2 separate regions of the Homo sapiens genome follow, and region 2 is linked to region 1. The links are contacts of gene promoters, found by promoter capture Hi-C in human tissues and cell types (Jung and others, 2019). All regions are on one chromosome and are shown on one strand. Each heading gives the region's core, a stretch centred on a gene start or on the middle of the fragment in contact. The rest is flanking DNA. Distances are from core to core; before and after follow the strand shown.

What was found. The method cuts DNA at HindIII sites, captures the fragments that hold promoters and counts their contacts. A contact is called where the count stands out against the background at its distance.
Region 2: a contact is called between a fragment that was not itself captured here and the fragment with the promoter of ITGB2 in region 1, in 3 of the 25 tissues and cell types used here (dorsolateral prefrontal cortex, heart left ventricle and spleen).

The regions. Positions count from the first base shown.
Region 1 is chr21:44,918,252-44,923,737 of GRCh38, reverse strand. It overlaps ITGB2 (integrin subunit beta 2), which reads left to right and starts at 2,839. Exons shown (of 16, transcript NM_000211.5): 1 at 2,839-2,917. ITGB2-AS1 (ITGB2 antisense RNA 1) reads right to left here and starts at 2,703. Exons shown (of 3, transcript NR_038316.1): 1 at 2,411-2,703. RefSeq lists a silencer at 4,189-4,248 and an enhancer at 5,332-5,486. The HindIII fragment of the contact is 46,650 bases long and covers 1-5,486 here.
Region 2 is chr21:45,150,079-45,155,352 of GRCh38, reverse strand. The region is part of intron 2 of ADARB1 (adenosine deaminase RNA specific B1); the gene reads right to left. Among named protein-coding and RNA genes, the nearest start is that of ADARB1, 78 kb to the right of the region's middle. RefSeq lists an enhancer at 3,144-4,000. The HindIII fragment of the contact is 4,613 bases long and covers 1-4,113 here.

The sequences.
Region 1 (5,486 bases), core at 1,590-4,089:
CATTAAGGACACTTAGTACTGTGCAACCATCACCACCAACTTCTCCAAAACCATTTCATCTTGCAAAACGGGAACTTTATACCCGCGAAATAATAACTTTACACTTCCTTGAAATGTTTTTTTAATCTTACTACAAAAAATTTCACACATCTACAGAAGTAGAGAGAATAGATTAGTGAAGCCCCATGTCCCCAACAGTGGCTTCAAAAATAATCAACTCACAGGTGATCTTGTTGTATCAACACCTCTCCCGACTCTCCCCCAACCCAACCCACCCCTCTTTATTGGGAAATAAATCTGAAACATTATACTGCACCATCTGCAAATATTTCAACATGTAACTCTAAAAGATGGGGACTTTTTAACATAACCACAAACCATTGTCACACTTAAAACAATTAACAATGATTTTAAAATATGGTCCATGCATTGCAATTGGTTCTATTAAGAGATTAAATCTCTTAATCTAAAGGGTCTCTCTCCCTTCGTCTCTCCTCTTGTACTGTGCTGTTTGCCTTGTGAGGGTTTCTTCAGCCTGGATTTTGCTAATTGCATCCCTACGATGTCATCTAACACACCCTCCTGATGCTTCTTTGTAGATCTAAAAAGTTCGACCTGATTCAGGCTCAATAGTAACATTTGTTCTTTCTATTTTTCTTGATTTCTATTGTTATTTCATCAAGACTAATTCATTAAAGGTGTGTGCATAACGTCTGCTGCGTCCGTGACGTTCGCAGCGAGGGTCATTGCTTACTTTAAGTCATCAGCGGGTGTAGTAGAATGGTATTCTCTTTCTGTCCTTCTTCATTATTTTCTAGGCTAAGTCTGTAATGAGAAGATACCCTTGACAGAGAACATTTCATTGGAACTTGTTTTGTCTCTTTATTTCTAAAACCCAACGCAAGACCTTGTTGATTTAAAACAAGAAAATGTAACCCATTCACAGGTGCTGTGATTCCTGATGGGTTTGAAATTATTCCCAATGTTTTATTGTTTGGTTTTTATTTACCTTTCTTGTTTGTTCTATTTTCCCTTACTTTTTTCTTTTAAAGGATTTGCCTTTTTTTTTTTTTTTTTTTCTCAGTTACCCAGACTGGAGTGCAGTGGTGTAAGCATGGTTCACCGTAGCCTCAACCTCTTGGGCTCAAGCAATTCTCCCACCTCAGCCTCCCAAGTAGCCTGGACCATATCGCGTGCTACCATGCCTGGCGAATTCTTAGAAAATTTTTTTGTAGAGATGAGGGTCTGGGTCTCCAAATGTTGCCTAGGCTGGTCTCGAACTCCTGGGCTCAAGTGATCCTCCCACCTCGGCCTCCCAAAGTGCTGGGATTACAAGTTTGAGCCACCATGCCCAAAATAAAGATTTGTCATATTTTTTTTCAGGTATATACATGCTATTTTTATTCTTAAGGAGACTCTTGAATTGTTAGCATATATACTTAGATATTTTCTATCAAAATGCCCACTGACAAGCATCTATATTCCTCCCCAGATAGGATGGAACGGCAATGTGCTCCCTGGCCCCTCCCAACCCAGTCCTCTAGGCGTTTTGTTTCACAGCGTTAATATTCTTACCACTATTTTTTAAATCAACAGGTTATGACATCATAATTTTTACTTATTTCTTTGCCCAACTTTGTATCATCTGCTCTTGTATTTCTCATGGATTTCTTCATGTCTATTTCTGCAAGACATCTTTAAAACAGAGTTTAGGAGCCGGGAGCCATGGCTCACGCCAGTAATCCCAGCACTTTGGAAGGCAGAGGTGGATGGATCACTTGAAGCCAGGAGTTCAAGACCAGCCTGGTCAACATAGTGAAACCCTGTCTCTACTAAGAATACAAAAATTACCCAGGCGTGGTGGTACATGTGCCTGTAATCCCAGCTACTTGGGAGGCTGAGGCAGGAGAATTGCTTGAACCCGGGAGGCAGAGGTTGCAGTGAGCTGAGATCACGCCACTGCACTCCAGCCTGGGTGACAAAAGCAAAACTCTGTCTCAAAAAAAACTGAAAACATAAAAATAAATAAATAAATAAAACAGAGTTTAGGGTAGTAATGTGTCTGAGTCCTTGCTCTGAAGATGTCTGATTTGGGTTTTTTTTCTAGGTATAATCTCTTTCCCTCCTCTTCCTCCTCCTCCTCCTCTCCCTTCTCTCTCTCTCTGAGCCTGTAGTATTTTCCCTTTCGTGTTCTGTGGTATCCTCCTAATGTCCCTAGTTAACAGGACCTCATCCATCCATCCCTGGGGTGTTCAGTGGCCTCGCAATCCACGTCCCCGCCCAGATCCGCAGCCTTCCTCCTGTGACCTGAGTGTCTCCTCCTCGCTGTCCCTGTTCTGTCCCCTCCCGCCCTCACATGCAGGTGGATGTCAATGCGTGCACGCACCCAGGTTTTCTTGCCTGTTCCCACCTCTTTATCCTCCTTGGCTGGTTCCTCCGCTCCATTCTCTGGCTCAGGAATTTGCTCCCCAGGGTTTTTCATTCCGCTCTGTAGCAGAATGTGCTACTGTTGCTTTCCAGCATCAAACTTTTCACTCCCATGGCCTCTGTGTTCTTCTTCCTAATGGGTGCCCTTTCTGCCTGGCGCTCCTGGAGGCCGGGCCCCTCTCCCAAGTGTGAATCTGATGGAAGCAGGTCCTTCTCGCCGGGACCTCATGTGAGAAATGACATGTCCCACCTGTCTCAAGGGGCCGCTCTCTGACATCAGAGCTGCTGTAGAGCGGAGAGGGGCAGGGGTGAAGGGCCACGGTGGTGCAACCCACCACTTCCTCCAAGGAGGAGCTGAGAGGAACAGGAAGTGTCAGGACTTTACGACCCGCGCCTCCAGCTGAGGTTTCTAGACGTGACCCAGGGCAGACTGGTAGCAAAGCCCCCACGCCCAGCCAGGAGCACCGCCGAGGACTCCAGCACACCGAGGGTGAGTGTGCAGAGGCCCCGCTATGTCCACGGTGATTTTTGGAGGGAAGCACTCTCCTGCCCCAGCCTGGAGTGACCCTGGTGGCCCTGCTTATAGCCCCGGCCCAGGGGTGTCTGGCAGGAAGGGGTCTCCAGACCGTCTGCTCCAGGGTCCCCTTTGAGACCCGGCAAGGGGAAGTGCCTGCCACCAAGAGCAGAGCCACATGGTGTGCTGGGAGCGCTTGCGGCTGAGGATGGGGCCGGCATGGGAGGACAAGGGGCTGTGAGGCCGGCAAGGCCAGGAAGAGGCTGGGCCCACAAGCCCCTAGGGGGACGGCTGGGGGGTCCTGGTGCTCCGGGCTGGGCAGGAGGCAGGTTCCCGGGGCCTCCTCTGTGAACCTGCTGCGCCTGCCTGTGTTAGGCCCTCCTGTCTGCATGCTGCCCCGCCTGGCTACAGCGATTCCATCTCCAGATCGACTCGCAGTGTGTGGTGTGTGATATGGTGTGGTGTGGTTCGTGGTGTGTAGTGTCGTGTGTGTAGTGTGGCATGGTGTGCATGTATGGTGCACGTGTGTGGCATAGCGTAGTGTGGTGTGTGTGTGTGCATGTATGGTGTGCGAGTGTGCGCATGTGATGTGGGGAGTCTGTTGTATGTACATGTATGGTGCACATGTGTAATGTAGTGTGGTGTGGTGTGGCACATGCTCCATGCTCCTCTGGGACCCTCGAGCTTCCCTGCCTCCTCCGTGGGGACCCCTGGGTGACGTCTTGCTGTAGGGGAGCGGGCACCGCTGTGCGATTCTGGTCGAGTTGGTTCAGCTGGTGACCCTGGCCTCCCCACAACAGGCTCCTGGAGGCCATTCCCAAGGTCCTGGTGGGAGGGGGATTGAAGCCACGCCCCTGGGTCCCAGGCCCACCTGGCCCCCTTCCCCCAACACTGCACTCTTGGGGCCAGCCCTCCCCATGCATCCTCCACCCCTGGCACCACCCCTTGCACCACCGTCCCCACACCCAATCCCCCCTCCCCTGGATCTGGGAGCTGGGATTCTGCCCTGCTGTCCCTGTCCATCCGGGGCCCCTCTCCTCTGTCAGTTCCTGGGTGGGGAGAAGGAGGGGTGGCATGGCTGCAATGGGGAAGGGGGGGGATGGCCGGAGAGCTCAGCCTGGGAGCGAGCTGTGGGGGCATAGGGGACACTCGCTGTCACTCGCCTTCCCCGTGACGGTGGCGCAACGCCTGCGGGTTTGGGGGCTGAGGCCGGATTCTGGAGGCTTCACAGAAATGAGCTGCTAGAAGCTCTGGGCTGTCTGCCGTCACCCCAGCGTTTCACCATGAGTGAAGCCCAGCTCACTGCAGAATCCATGCCCAGCTCACTGCAGAATCCCCGGGGGCCAGCACTTTACCAAGAGTGGCCTCCAGACTCCACATTTTAGGAAGGAACTCCTTCCCCATCCAGCTCACAGCAGAATCCCCAGGGTCCCTGCCAGCCTGGCACCCAGCGTGCCCCTCAGTATTCTGGGGATGAGTGGGGGAGTCCCTCTGCTGGGAAGAGGTCCCTGGCTACGTCCCTGCAGGGCGGCGGCTGAGCCCATGCCTCGGCCCCAGGGCCAGTCCCCGCCGGGTGCCATCCTGAGCAGGGCCACAGAACAGATGTCCCACATGGCCAGGACCCCTGTGGCCACCTGACCCCGGGGGGGCTGTGGCCCTCGGTGAAGCAGGTGACCGGGCGGGCTGTGGGGTTTGTCAGCTCCGCAGCGTCACTGCCGCTCAGCGTATGAGTTTCCACTCCCAGCACTCAATGAACAGCTGAGCAACTGCAGGTGCCTCCGAGTGCTGGGAGAGGGGAATGCTCAGCTCCGAGTGCTGGGAGAGGGGACGCTCAGCTCCGAGTGCTGGGAGAGGGGACGCTTAGCCACCCAAGGGCCTTTGCCTCAAGGGAGTAAATAGGGGCATTTCCTGGTGGGCGTGGGCTGGGCTGGAGAAGCAGGGCCTCCTGGCAGGGGCTGGCATGAGATCCAAACACTGCCCAGGCAGCTGGACACTCCTGAGCCTGGAGCTTCTCACCTGAACCACAGGGTGGTAACCCCTGCCCCTCAGGCGGCATCGACGTGACCTGCCTAGTGCACAGTGAGCCTGAGGCAACACGGCCACCACCAGGAGACTCCCTGGGGAAGAGGCCCCCAGACAGCGAGGTGCCCATGAAGGAAGTTCTGCACAGGGGCCGCGGCCATCCAGGAGATGGGAGGGGCCCTATCTGCACCCTGTCTGGAAGGGGCATGGGGTGAGCAGGCTATTTGGTCCCCCGTGACTCAGTTTCCCCATCTGTGAAACAGGAGGGGTGGTCTGGCCAATTGTGCGCACTCCAGCTGTCTCTATAGTCAACCGTGTAACTTGAACTCACTTCCCCAGGGCTCCTGCCAGGCCCAGGTCTGTCCACTCTGGCCCAGGCCGGGCCCCACCAGGTACCAGGGCTGTGGGACATTTGCCTCTGTGGATGGGGCAGCGTGACGCCTGTGGCGATTCCATGGAACAGGTCCTGTGTGGGCCCCCCTTGCTGCACTCGTGTCCTGTGTCAGAGAACCGTGGTCCTGCC
Region 2 (5,274 bases), core at 558-3,057, 230 kb before region 1:
CCTCCCCTTGGCCAACTGGCTCTGCTCACTCTGTGAAGGGTGAAGGTCAGGAGTTCCAGGGCTTCTCCTCCAGAAGTACTCAGGGGGAGCAGGCCTCTCTACGTTTGGACCTCCAGCTCCACAGAGGTCCCCACACCCTGTTCACCTCTATCCTGGAAACATGGGGGAGCCCAGCCTCAGACTAAAACACAGTTCAGAACTGCTGCCAGAGGACAGTGGTCTTCACATGTGCATACACGACTAAGCACAGATAAGGATGTTATCACATAGGGGACAAACAAAACACTCAGTGAGAAATACATCTGGAAATACAGGATGCTATTCAGACAGCAGGAGGGTGGGGACTGAAGGACTGCCTCTTTGTTCCCATCTCTCTCCCCTCCCACTGGTCATGAACTTAGCAGCAGTGCTGTGAGTGAATGAGGCTACAGCAGCAGCCACTGAGCACTGGCTGGGTGCAGGAAGCGCTCCATATATGGGCACTAACTGCTACTCAGAATCCTGCCCTGTGGCTCCCAGACCTCTCCCAGGTCTCGTGCTGGCAGCATCTGCCAGGGTGGCAGTGTCTGCTTGATGGGGACTCTGGCCAGTATTTAAATGGTACATTATTCTTTAGCCCTATTTTCCTGATGATTAAGCTAACCCATCTGAGGCTCACACACAGTCAACAGTCAATTATTTGCCCTGTGGAAGGCAGTAACTGCAAGTATAATCCAGGAGTGATGAAAAAAATCACTGAAATTATATTGCCACTGAAGCCAACTAAAACCCGTAACTTGCTACTACATTGTTTTCATCAAAGAATTACATTTTAAAAGGCGTACATTGTATCAGTCTTAGGGAAAAAACCATGCAATACACATGATTTACAGTACCTTAGAAATATACAGTATAAAAGACTATTTTACATCTTATAAAACTTTGCCAGTTTGGTATAAATGTGATGGCCAATCTTAATAATATCGATAATTTCAAAGGTATTTTTATTAGTTTCAAAGATAATGCTTATTACAAAATACCAACAGCGAGAACTAACACATAACATGATACTGTTTAGTAACACTCACAATGAACTTACTCACATAGGAATGACCAAGGAACACAAGCCATTTAATATGTGGGCCTCATTGTTACATCTTATAACCCTCTCAATTTCTTATAACCTTGGTCTGAAAATGCAACATATTTGAGAGTGGTTTTCCCACTGCAGAATGAGATTATGGAATGCATGAAAAAGACATTTTAAGCTTGAATCACAGTAAATTCCAAAAGAATGATGACAGAATTATTCTTGTACTTCTCAATATTTTTCCCAACTTAAATAATTAGTGATGAGTGTCCATGGGAAAAGTGGTGGTAATTCTAAATTGAGGGTATTTGGTAAAAATGTCCTTTAGTTTTTGCCTGTGCCTTTGTTTTACTCCCTATTGCCTGTCTTAGTGACATCTCAATTTCCAAAGCTTAACTGAGGAAACAAAAACAGGCCAATGCTGTGACCTCTTGAGGTGAGGGCAGAGGGGGCCGCACAGACTGGCTGTCCTGAGACCGCCCGTCAGTCCAGGAAAGCATCGAGGGTGTGGCATCCCCAGCCCTGGACACAAGCACCTGGCAGCACGGTGCACAGAGGGCCCAGGGTCAGGGGTTCCCCACTCCCAGACACAGACTTCCATTAGGTGCTGTCACCTTTGTTATATTACAAGGTACTATTACAAGATTGCTGACTTTGAGATTCATCTGTTCTTCTTCTTAGGAAGCCACACCAAAAAACCGAGGTTAATTTTACTTCCTGAAGAAACAGCCATCTCCTGCCACAGCATGTCCCAAGGGCCCTGTGGTGGTGAAGCGCTGTACTCCAGTCCTGTCGGGTGGGGGACACTAAGGGGGCGCCCAGAAGACACAGAGGCAGAGGCACTGATCACGCCTGTGTTCAGCTGTTCTCCGGGCTAGACACATCTTTTCACTAAGGCATTTTCTATTAATTATTTCATATTATACAAAGAGAAAAAAAAAACATCAACAGCTTTTAAAGCAGCAATTTAGGTCCAAAAACCAGTAGCTTGTGATGTGTATAGTCATGGACAACTTTTGAATCTGGTTTTGAGAAAAAAAATCTAGATTTTAATGACTTAAAACATTAAGTTGAATTAAAAACTGGTATTAACCTGGAGTGCAGAATGTAAGGAATTTGCTCTCCATTCTTTTAAAGGGGAAATATTTTCACAATGGTTGCTCAGCCTTGCTTTCTGCAGCATGAAGAACAGTTTTAATGTAGAAAAGTCATTAATGAAGAGTGCGGCAAAGGAAATCTCATATAAGCATCTGTCTCTGGGAGAAAAACCTTTTCTGTAGCTCAAAGCTACAAACTTTAAAGTTTTATAAATATCTTTCCAAAGACATACTCCAGACTCTGAAGCTAAATGATTTCTATTCATGTTTACAGACATGTTTTTGAATCTTCCTTTTTAAGTGCCCCTATCTAAAATTCTATAAAATGCCAACAACAAAAAAGGCACTCAAAAAGGGAAAATAGGAAGTAACTGGCATCAGCAAGATTAATTCACAAAGCCGTCTATCCCAGAAAACACTTCTGTATTGCATTAAAGACAAATGCTTCACACTGAAGAATAAAAACTAAATGAATTACCTTTCCTCTCAGAGCGCTTCTTGCGCCTCCTTTTATACCGACGCCCCATGATGCTGAAAAAGGTCCCCATGTGCAAAGGCCCAGTGGTGGACGACGCCATGCAGACACGCCAATGCCAGTCCGGCCGGCCCCAGCCTCATTCTGTCCCTCAGTCACTCGGGGCAGCAGCACACCGACTCACTTCCGTGTGCCGGCAGCTGCGACAACAGCAGCCCCTACCGACGAGGGAGCCTCCTCCTCTGCCTCGGGCCCATTCATCATGCCGCAGTTAGGCAGAACTAGGCTGAAGGGGCCCACACACCACAATGACTTCAGAGCACACCACCCAGAGAATGACATGTGACAGCTAACCGTTCAGCGCAGTCACAGTAAAACACCACGAGCAGAGGGGAGAGAACGACAGCCGTGAATCTTCTAGGGAAACAAATCTCCCACAGCAGACGTACCAAAGTCCTGTTTAAATGGAAATCCTAATACAAAAAATCTATCAATAAAAGAGTACAGTTTAGAAAATAAAACTGCAAAAAGTAACAGGCTACCACACAACACAATGCAGAGGCTCAGCAGACGCCAGCTGATGAAAACAGCTCCATATAAAGTGCAGGTGAGTGGTCAGGATGTCACCAGTGAAATCCCTGGGACAGGAAACTGCAGGCCACTGACAAATGGATCCCCCCGCCCCCAGAGAGTGCTCTTCCTCCTCTCTTAACTCACGTGTCTCGGACCAATGCTGACCTGCCTTGTTCATTACTGCAGAGCAGGGGCACAGCTCATGCCCCAGGTGAATGACACACAGCCAAGGGAGGGGCAAACGCCAACATCTTCCCATTTTCCACTGTGCCTGGCTTGATCAGCACAGCCAGTCTGTGACTAGCACAGTACCATGGCCAGCCTGGGGCGAGCAGGGACACACATCACACACATGTACATGCACACACATCACATACACACATCATACAGCACTTGGTGCCTCTGCCACTCGGGATCCAGCATTCAGGGCTGGCAAAGCAGAACCCACAGCCCTCAGCCTCCTCTTGTCTAGAAAAACGCTGTTCAGGCCCCAGGGAGATACCTCCCCTGAGATGGCCTGTGTCTCTGGAACAAAAGGCAGCTGCATCCAAATGCCCTGAAGATTAGGCTGTCTTGGAAGGAGTCCGATTATGGGGAGGAGTCAAGCAGAAGAAGCACTCATAGGCAAAAGAAAAAAAAGACAAATTAATTAGTCAGATTCTTTCTCTTGCCACAATGCAATTACTGTCTCGTGTAACAAAGTACCTTTTCCTAATAATGACCAACATCCACTTTCTAATTCATTATTCCAATTAGTGCAATGCTTGTGACAACTGCACATGGCACCTAAGGAAATTATGCCATATTAAGCAATTCTTATTACTCTTAAATTTGTGTGTGTCCAGACACACTCTGCGTAAGCATAGTGAATTCTTTTCATTTTCTATTGCCTCAGCATCTATCTGGAATATGAGCTGCACTTTCTCCTAGTAGCGGCAGAGTTCAGCCACCCCTGACACTTTGTAGTTCTACACCACACCCAGTGGCTCAAGCCAGTACCAGAGATGAGAACCTAGAGGCATCTTTCACTCAGGCACCTGCCCACACACTTCAAGTGACCCCACCCTACTCCCTTATTTGTTCTGCTGGTTGGCTGCAGTGCTCTCTCTCTCTGCCTGACCCTTTGTTCCTGCTTGCATGACCCAGGGACAGAGGACTGCCCTCCTGACTCATGGCACCCTCCCTGCTCAGGACCTGTAAGTAAAAATCTTTGAACATGTTTCCCCCATTGTGTGGTGTACTGAATTTGTGCCTGAATTTGTGTTGGGCTCCTGGCACGAGTGACGGTCAGGCAGGAATAACCTGGACATGGATCAGACAAGAGCCACCAGGGCATGTGTCAGTACACACACATTTCCAGAGGGACCCCTTGGTCACAGGTGGAACAACGAGACATCAGGCCCGACCGCCAGGCAAAGCAGCATCTCATGAAAGCACTGGAAACAGCATGCCCAGCCCCTTCACTTCTCGTTAGGGTGGGGCTGCCAGCCACTCTGGCACTGGAACCCCAATGTAGCTGGAGGCCCTCAAAACACTGTAAGACTCAGGATCCATGTCAGCAATCAGACAGATGTCAGACATCAGAATTATCAATAGTTTTATTTCTTATAAAATTATTAATATGATTTAACTAAATTTTCAAAGTATTAAATTTAAAACTCAGCTTTAAACAATTTTGATTTAAACATTTCACATTAACTACTTTATATCTTATAACTTAATAATTTAGAAAAAATAATTTTTTGAAAACACAAAAAATTATAATTTTTGCTTTGTTATTTCCTTAAAATTCAAATTTTTGATAGAAAGATATTCAAATTTTGTATACTTCAAATTCAATGACATTTTTGTTTGTTTGTTTGTCTGAGACAGAGTTTTGCTCTGTTGCCCAGGCTGGAATGCAGCGGCAGGATCTCAGCTCACTGCAACCTCCACCTCCTGGATTCAAGCGATTCTCCTGCCTTGGCCTCCCAAGTAGCGTGCGCCACCACGTCTGGCTAATTTCTTTTGTATTTTTAGTAGAGACGGGGTTTCACCATGTTGGTCAGGCTGGTCTCGAA